2 separate regions of the Homo sapiens genome follow, and region 1 is linked to region 2. The links are contacts of gene promoters, found by promoter capture Hi-C in human tissues and cell types (Jung and others, 2019). All regions are on one chromosome and are shown on one strand. Each heading gives the region's core, a stretch centred on a gene start or on the middle of the fragment in contact. The rest is flanking DNA. Distances are from core to core; before and after follow the strand shown.

Region 1 (2,700 bases), core at 125-2,624, 65 kb after region 2:
GCATCTCTTCAGGCAGCCGCCAGTCCTGGCACTGGCTCCCCCACTCAGCCCCTTGGCCCTGCCAGCCCTTTGAAGCTCATGCAGCGCTTCCTGTTTGGGGCGGGCGATGCCAGGGCCCCTCCCCCACCATTGTTCTGGAGAGACCATAGGTCCATCTGTTGCCCCATGGTGGGGCCCCTAGGCAGTGCCACACGGGAGCAGCACCACAAAGGACGCTGCTGGCAGCTTTGCTTATGTGGGGTGAGGCTGGGCCCTGCAGCAGGTTGAGGGTGAATGGTGGTCAGAGGCAGGCCTGGGGCGGGCACTGGGATAGGAGGATGCTAGAAAGTTCTGGTGCTTGGGCAGCTGGAGCCCTCAGCTTTCTCCTCCACCTGGAGCATGGAGATGATATTCAGGGAGCCATACGTGCTGAAGCCACCAGGAGAGGGCCACCATTCTCATGCCTGGATTCCCAAAAGGAAAACTGAGGCAGAGGGGCAAACTTTGGTCCAGGATGGCCAATAAAAGGGTCACAAAATAGGGTTGTCATTTCAAGGGGATTGGCCCCACTCTCTGAATGCCCAGTAATTGGGTGCTTTCCTCTCCCTGAGCAGCTTTACCGTGGCTCAGCTTTCACCTTGAACCAGCCCTTACTGAGCAGTCAGAAACCATACCGTGAGGTCAGGAGAGGCTGCGCGGCCTTAGTTTGGTGGCCAGCAACCCATGTCCACTGAGAATAAGCTTGGGCAGAGAAAAGGGAAAGGGGCACTGGTCTGGCCCCCCGGAAGGTGGCTGCTGCTTCTGGTTCCCAGGCTGCTGTGGCCAAAGGTCTGTTTGTGTTTGCCAGGTGCAGAGGCAGGTGGCTGCAGCTCACCTTCCCTCCATGGCATGATCTCCCAGCTCTGACCCTTGACCTGTTCCCTCGCGGCATCTCCACAGGGCTAGAAGGTGAACCCTACTTCCTTTACCAGGTCCTCTGGTTTCTCTTCCCAGGCCAGGACCTAAACCGTTCACAACTCCCAGCAGGCCAGAGCTGCAGAGACCTCAGATAGAGACTATAAAGTGCTGTGGAAGCCTTGTTCAAATAAAAACATTCATGAATGTCCAGTACTTGAAATTGGTATGCTGAGATTCTCCGATGGAAACTGGGCTGGAGGGACCCACACTCCTGTTCACTCAGCCTGTTCTCCACTCCTATCTCAATGTCTCTCTCTCTGTTTTTTTTTTTTTTTTTTAATAGAAACAACACCTTGTTCTATTGCCTAGGCTGGAGTGCAGTGGCGCCATCATAGCTCACTGCAGCCTTTAATTCCTGATCTCAAGTGATCCTCCCACCCCAGGCTCCTGAGTAGCAAGGACTACAGACACCACACCTGGCTAATTTTTATTTCTATTTTTTGTAGTGACGGGGGTCTTGCTAGGTTGCCAAGGCTGGTCTTGAACTCCTGACTTCAAGCAGTCCTCCCACCTCAGCCTCCTAGGGTGTCCGGATTACAGGCATGAGCCACTGTGCCCGGCCCCCTATCACGATATCCATAAGATGCCAGGATGCCCAGGAACCGAGTTTGAAAGACATTGTGCTGCTGATCCCACCTCCTGACTTTACAGCTGCTGAATTGCAGAAGACAAATTGGTAGCTAACAGGAGGCTCCATCCTGGATCCTGCCCCTGTCCGTGAGATTCAGCCTTGATTAACTGTGTTCCCATGCTGGTCGTGAGCAGGGCACCATCCTAGGTCCTTCTTTATACTCATTTTCCATCTCCAGCCAAAATGGGTTGAACCGAGGAACAAGGACATAATCTGTAAAGAGCAAGTGCAAGTCTCTGCTCTGCCATTACCAGCATCAGGCTAATCAAGCCCTTGGAAACTCAATTTCTTCTCCTGTAAAATGTGAATAACTGTTACAGACCTGGAAAGGCTCTTGTGAGGCTGAAATGAGAGCGGTGCCGCCCATCTGTCAAGGTAGCCCAGGGCCTGGCGCCCAAGCAGCCCTGGGCACTTGCCCCTCTTCCCTTTTACTCTGCACCTCCTTTCTGTAGGCGTAGGACCCTGAGACCTGTCCCAGCTCATCCCTCACAAGGCCCTCTGACTTCTTCAGATATCAGAGTGGAATTGGAAGAAAGAAGCTTGCTTGAGTAGGTTTTTCTGGTTTCTTGAACAATGGCGATTCTAAGGAAAAGAGGTTCAGGATGAGAATGAGAGGAAGCCCACAGGCATGTAGAATATGGCCACAGGTGGGACAAGAGTGCTTCCTTGGGATGGGGGTCCTGGTTCCCTGAAGGAAAGGAGACAGGGCACTACTCCAGCTCCAGGAGTCTCATAGGACAGGCCAAGAGGGCTGGGCAGACACCATGCTGGCCGCTGATCAGGCATGACTCCTCTGCCAGCCTGCCCTCGCAGGCCAGCCCAGAACTTGCACAACAGTCGGCCTGGCTGGCACTCTCCCGGGAGCTTCAGGAAGTCCCCCTTGTCCTCCCCTTGACCTTTGACCCCTTGGGCCTGCTGCCGACCAGAATACCAGGCAGATGTTCTCTCTTTTACCTTTTGTTCCTGGTCTTTCCCTCTAAGGCTGGAACTCAGAGATACCCCAAACCCCCAGCTTCCAGCTCATCCTTCCCCATGCTCTCAGTGCGGACCAGCTGGAGCCTCCACTGGGCCGCTCTCCATGTGAGCCAGTGTGGATCCTTGGCCACAGCCGGCAGGACGCTTGCAAGTGCCCC
Region 2 (2,700 bases), core at 119-2,618:
AGAATTTCCTGAATCTGGAAGGCAGAGGTTGCAGTGAGCCGAGATCGTGCCATTGCACTCCAGCCTGGGTGACAGAGCAAGACTCCGTCTCAAAAAAAAAAAAAAAAAAATAAATAAATAAATAAATAAAGATTCTTGAATGTGTTAGCCATAAGGGGAAATCAAATCACAACAAAACCCTTTCTTCCCAGTGACTGCACAATCATTTTCTTCATTCCCAGCATACCACCATTGTTGTATATCCACCAGTGTGCCAGGGTCTGTGGATAAACCCTAAACATCCAGAGAAGGGGAGACAGGCCCCAGATTCCCACCCCAACACGCATCATGTGAGCAGCTGGAGGATGTTGCAGTTCAGCAAAATCCAAGGGTTGGCCACAGGATCTGCTAGGCAAAGCTGCTCTGGATGAGAAACTGGGAAGAATGTTCCCATTGGTTTGGGGGTTGTTAAGCCATCAGGAAAAGGTTTGGAATCTGTATTTTAAGAGAGCATGCTATGTGATTCCTTCCTCCAGCCCTGCCTTCATCTGTCTTTCACCTGTTCAGACCCTTGCCGTAGAGAATGGTCTCTTAAGAGTTTTTTACTCAGGAGGAGCAATGAGCTTGGCTTCAAGGAGTCCACTGTTTCGTGAAGGGCATTAACTCAGCTACTTGGTGAACTGGAACCTCCAGGCTTCCAAGGATGACATTTCCCTGGAAGAAAGTAGCCAGCAGCGTCCCCTTTGTGAAAGAGAGGAAGCCTGGGCTCCAGGGAAGGGGGCAACAGTCCAATGAGCCATAGCAGGGAATGGACCGAACTGTACATACAAGATGAGGAGGGGCCTCGAACAACAGGGAAGCCCCGTGGAGCACGCAGGGGAGCCTGGACGCGGGGAATCGCCTCCGTTTCTCACCCTGACAGCAGGGAGGGCTTCCCGGAGCTGACAGTGAGGCAGACATCCCGGATCCCTGTTATCACAGGTGCAGCCACGCAACTTTTGGGTTACCTTCCCGCCACGAAATGGAAATGATTTCCTGAGGGCCGGAAAGATCATTTGCATCGGGCCTCAGGTCTGGGGCTGGGAAAGCAGGCCCCGGCCGGAAAGGAAGACTGGAGGCCGCCGCCCCAGAGGCCGGACCCTCGCGTCCCGGCCGCATCCCCTCCCGGCTGGGTATGCGCTTCGGGCGCGGGGCTCCCTCGCGAGGCTGGACTGGGTGGAGCCCGAGAGCCCCTCCGGGGAGCTGGCTGCCGGGGAGGCACCGGGGCTGCGGGGCCGCGGGGCGGGCCGGGCCTGGAGCTCCGCGCTAGAGGCGGCCGCAGCGCACCGGGCGTGGGCGGGGCCGGCAGCGCAAGGGTGAATGTCGGCCCCGCCCCGACGGCGCTGACTCAGTTTCACCAGAAACCAGGGGGAGAAGGCGGCCGAGCCCCAGCTCTCCGAGCACCGGGTCGGAAGCCGCGACCCGAGCCGCGCAGGAAGCTGGGACCGGAACCTCGGCGGACCCGGCCCCACCCAACTCACCTGCGCAGGTAACCCGGGCCCCCGCGCGCAAGGCCGAGGCGCAGGCGGAGCGGGCTGGAGCATGTCCGGCCCTTTGTTCTGCGCTCGTGCGTGTGTCCGGGTACTTGAGCTCCCTAGCGGTCCGCCTGTCCGTCTGTCTGGCTGCCGGGTCCCTGGAGGGCGCGTGGGAGGGCCGGGCCCGTGCGCCCTCTTCGATCCTGGGGTGCTCCGGTCCCTCCTCCCCGCCACTTCCTCCCGGCCGGCCCGCCTCCTCCAAAGTCTCCCGGGCTGATCAGGTGTGTCTCCTCCTCTGTCCCCTCCCTTCTTCTCAGGTCACCAGCACCCTCGGAACCCAGAGGCCCGCGCTCTGAAGGTGACCCCCCTGGGGAGGAAGGCGATGGCCCCTGCGAGGACGATGGCCCGCGCCCGCCTCGCCCCGGCCGGCATCCCTGCCGTCGCCTTGTGGCTTCTGTGCACGCTCGGCCTCCAGGGCACCCAGGCCGGGCCACCGCCCGCGCCCCCTGGGCTGCCCGCGGGAGCCGACTGCCTGAACAGCTTTACCGCCGGGGTGCCTGGCTTCGTGCTGGACACCAACGCCTCGGTCAGCAACGGAGCTACCTTCCTGGAGTCCCCCACCGTGCGCCGGGGCTGGGACTGCGTGCGCGCCTGCTGCACCACCCAGAACTGCAACTTGGCGCTAGTGGAGCTGCAGCCCGACCGCGGGGAGGACGCCATCGCCGCCTGCTTCCTCATCAACTGCCTCTACGAGCAGAACTTCGTGTGCAAGTTCGCGCCCAGGGAGGGCTTCATCAACTACCTCACGAGGGAAGTGTACCGCTCCTACCGCCAGCTGCGGACCCAGGGCTTTGGAGGTGAGGAGGGTGCCAAGATGGATGGGTTTGGAGAGACTCAAAAAAGGGACTGGTTATGGGGTCCTAGGGGAGACGAACATCAGAGAGGAGTTAAGGAGAGTTCACTTTTTTTTTTCTTTTTCTTTCTTTTTTTTTGCGACGGAGTCTCGCTCTTGTCGCCCAGGCTGGAGTGCAATGGCGCAATCTCTGGTTGCTCACTGCAACCTCCGTCTTCCACGTTCAAGTGATTCTTCTGTCTCAGCCTCCGGAGTAGCTGGAACTACAGGCACCCGCTACCAGACCCGGCTAATTTTTTTTTTTTTTTTTTTTTTTTTTTTTTTGGTACAGACGGGGTTTCACTATGTTGGCCA

Evidence for each region. The method cuts DNA at HindIII sites, captures the fragments that hold promoters and counts their contacts. A contact is called where the count stands out against the background at its distance.
Region 1: a fragment that was not itself captured here is called in contact with the fragment with the promoter of SPINT1 in region 2 in 4 of the 25 tissues and cell types used here (lymphoblastoid cells, ovary, spleen and 1 more).

What each region holds. Positions count from the first base shown.
Region 1 is chr15:40,907,447-40,910,146 of GRCh38, forward strand. It overlaps LOC105370943 (a long non-coding RNA gene), which reads left to right. Exons shown (of 2, transcript NR_135836.1): 2 at 1,383-1,905. Among named protein-coding and RNA genes, the nearest start is that of VPS18, 14 kb to the left of the region's middle. RefSeq lists an enhancer at 209-338. The HindIII fragment of the contact is 3,580 bases long and covers 1-2,700 here.
Region 2 is chr15:40,842,680-40,845,379 of GRCh38, forward strand. SPINT1 (serine peptidase inhibitor, Kunitz type 1) reads left to right here and starts at 1,369. Exons shown (of 11, transcript NM_003710.4): 1 at 1,369-1,507; 2 at 1,811-2,350. The coding sequence starts at 1,876. It overlaps SPINT1-AS1 (SPINT1 antisense RNA 1), which reads right to left and starts at 1,845. Exons shown (of 2, transcript NR_146468.1): 1 at 1,500-1,845. RefSeq lists silencers at 807-989, 1,151-1,380, 1,461-1,520, 1,811-2,050 and an enhancer at 942-1,513. The HindIII fragment of the contact is 27,771 bases long and covers 1-2,700 here.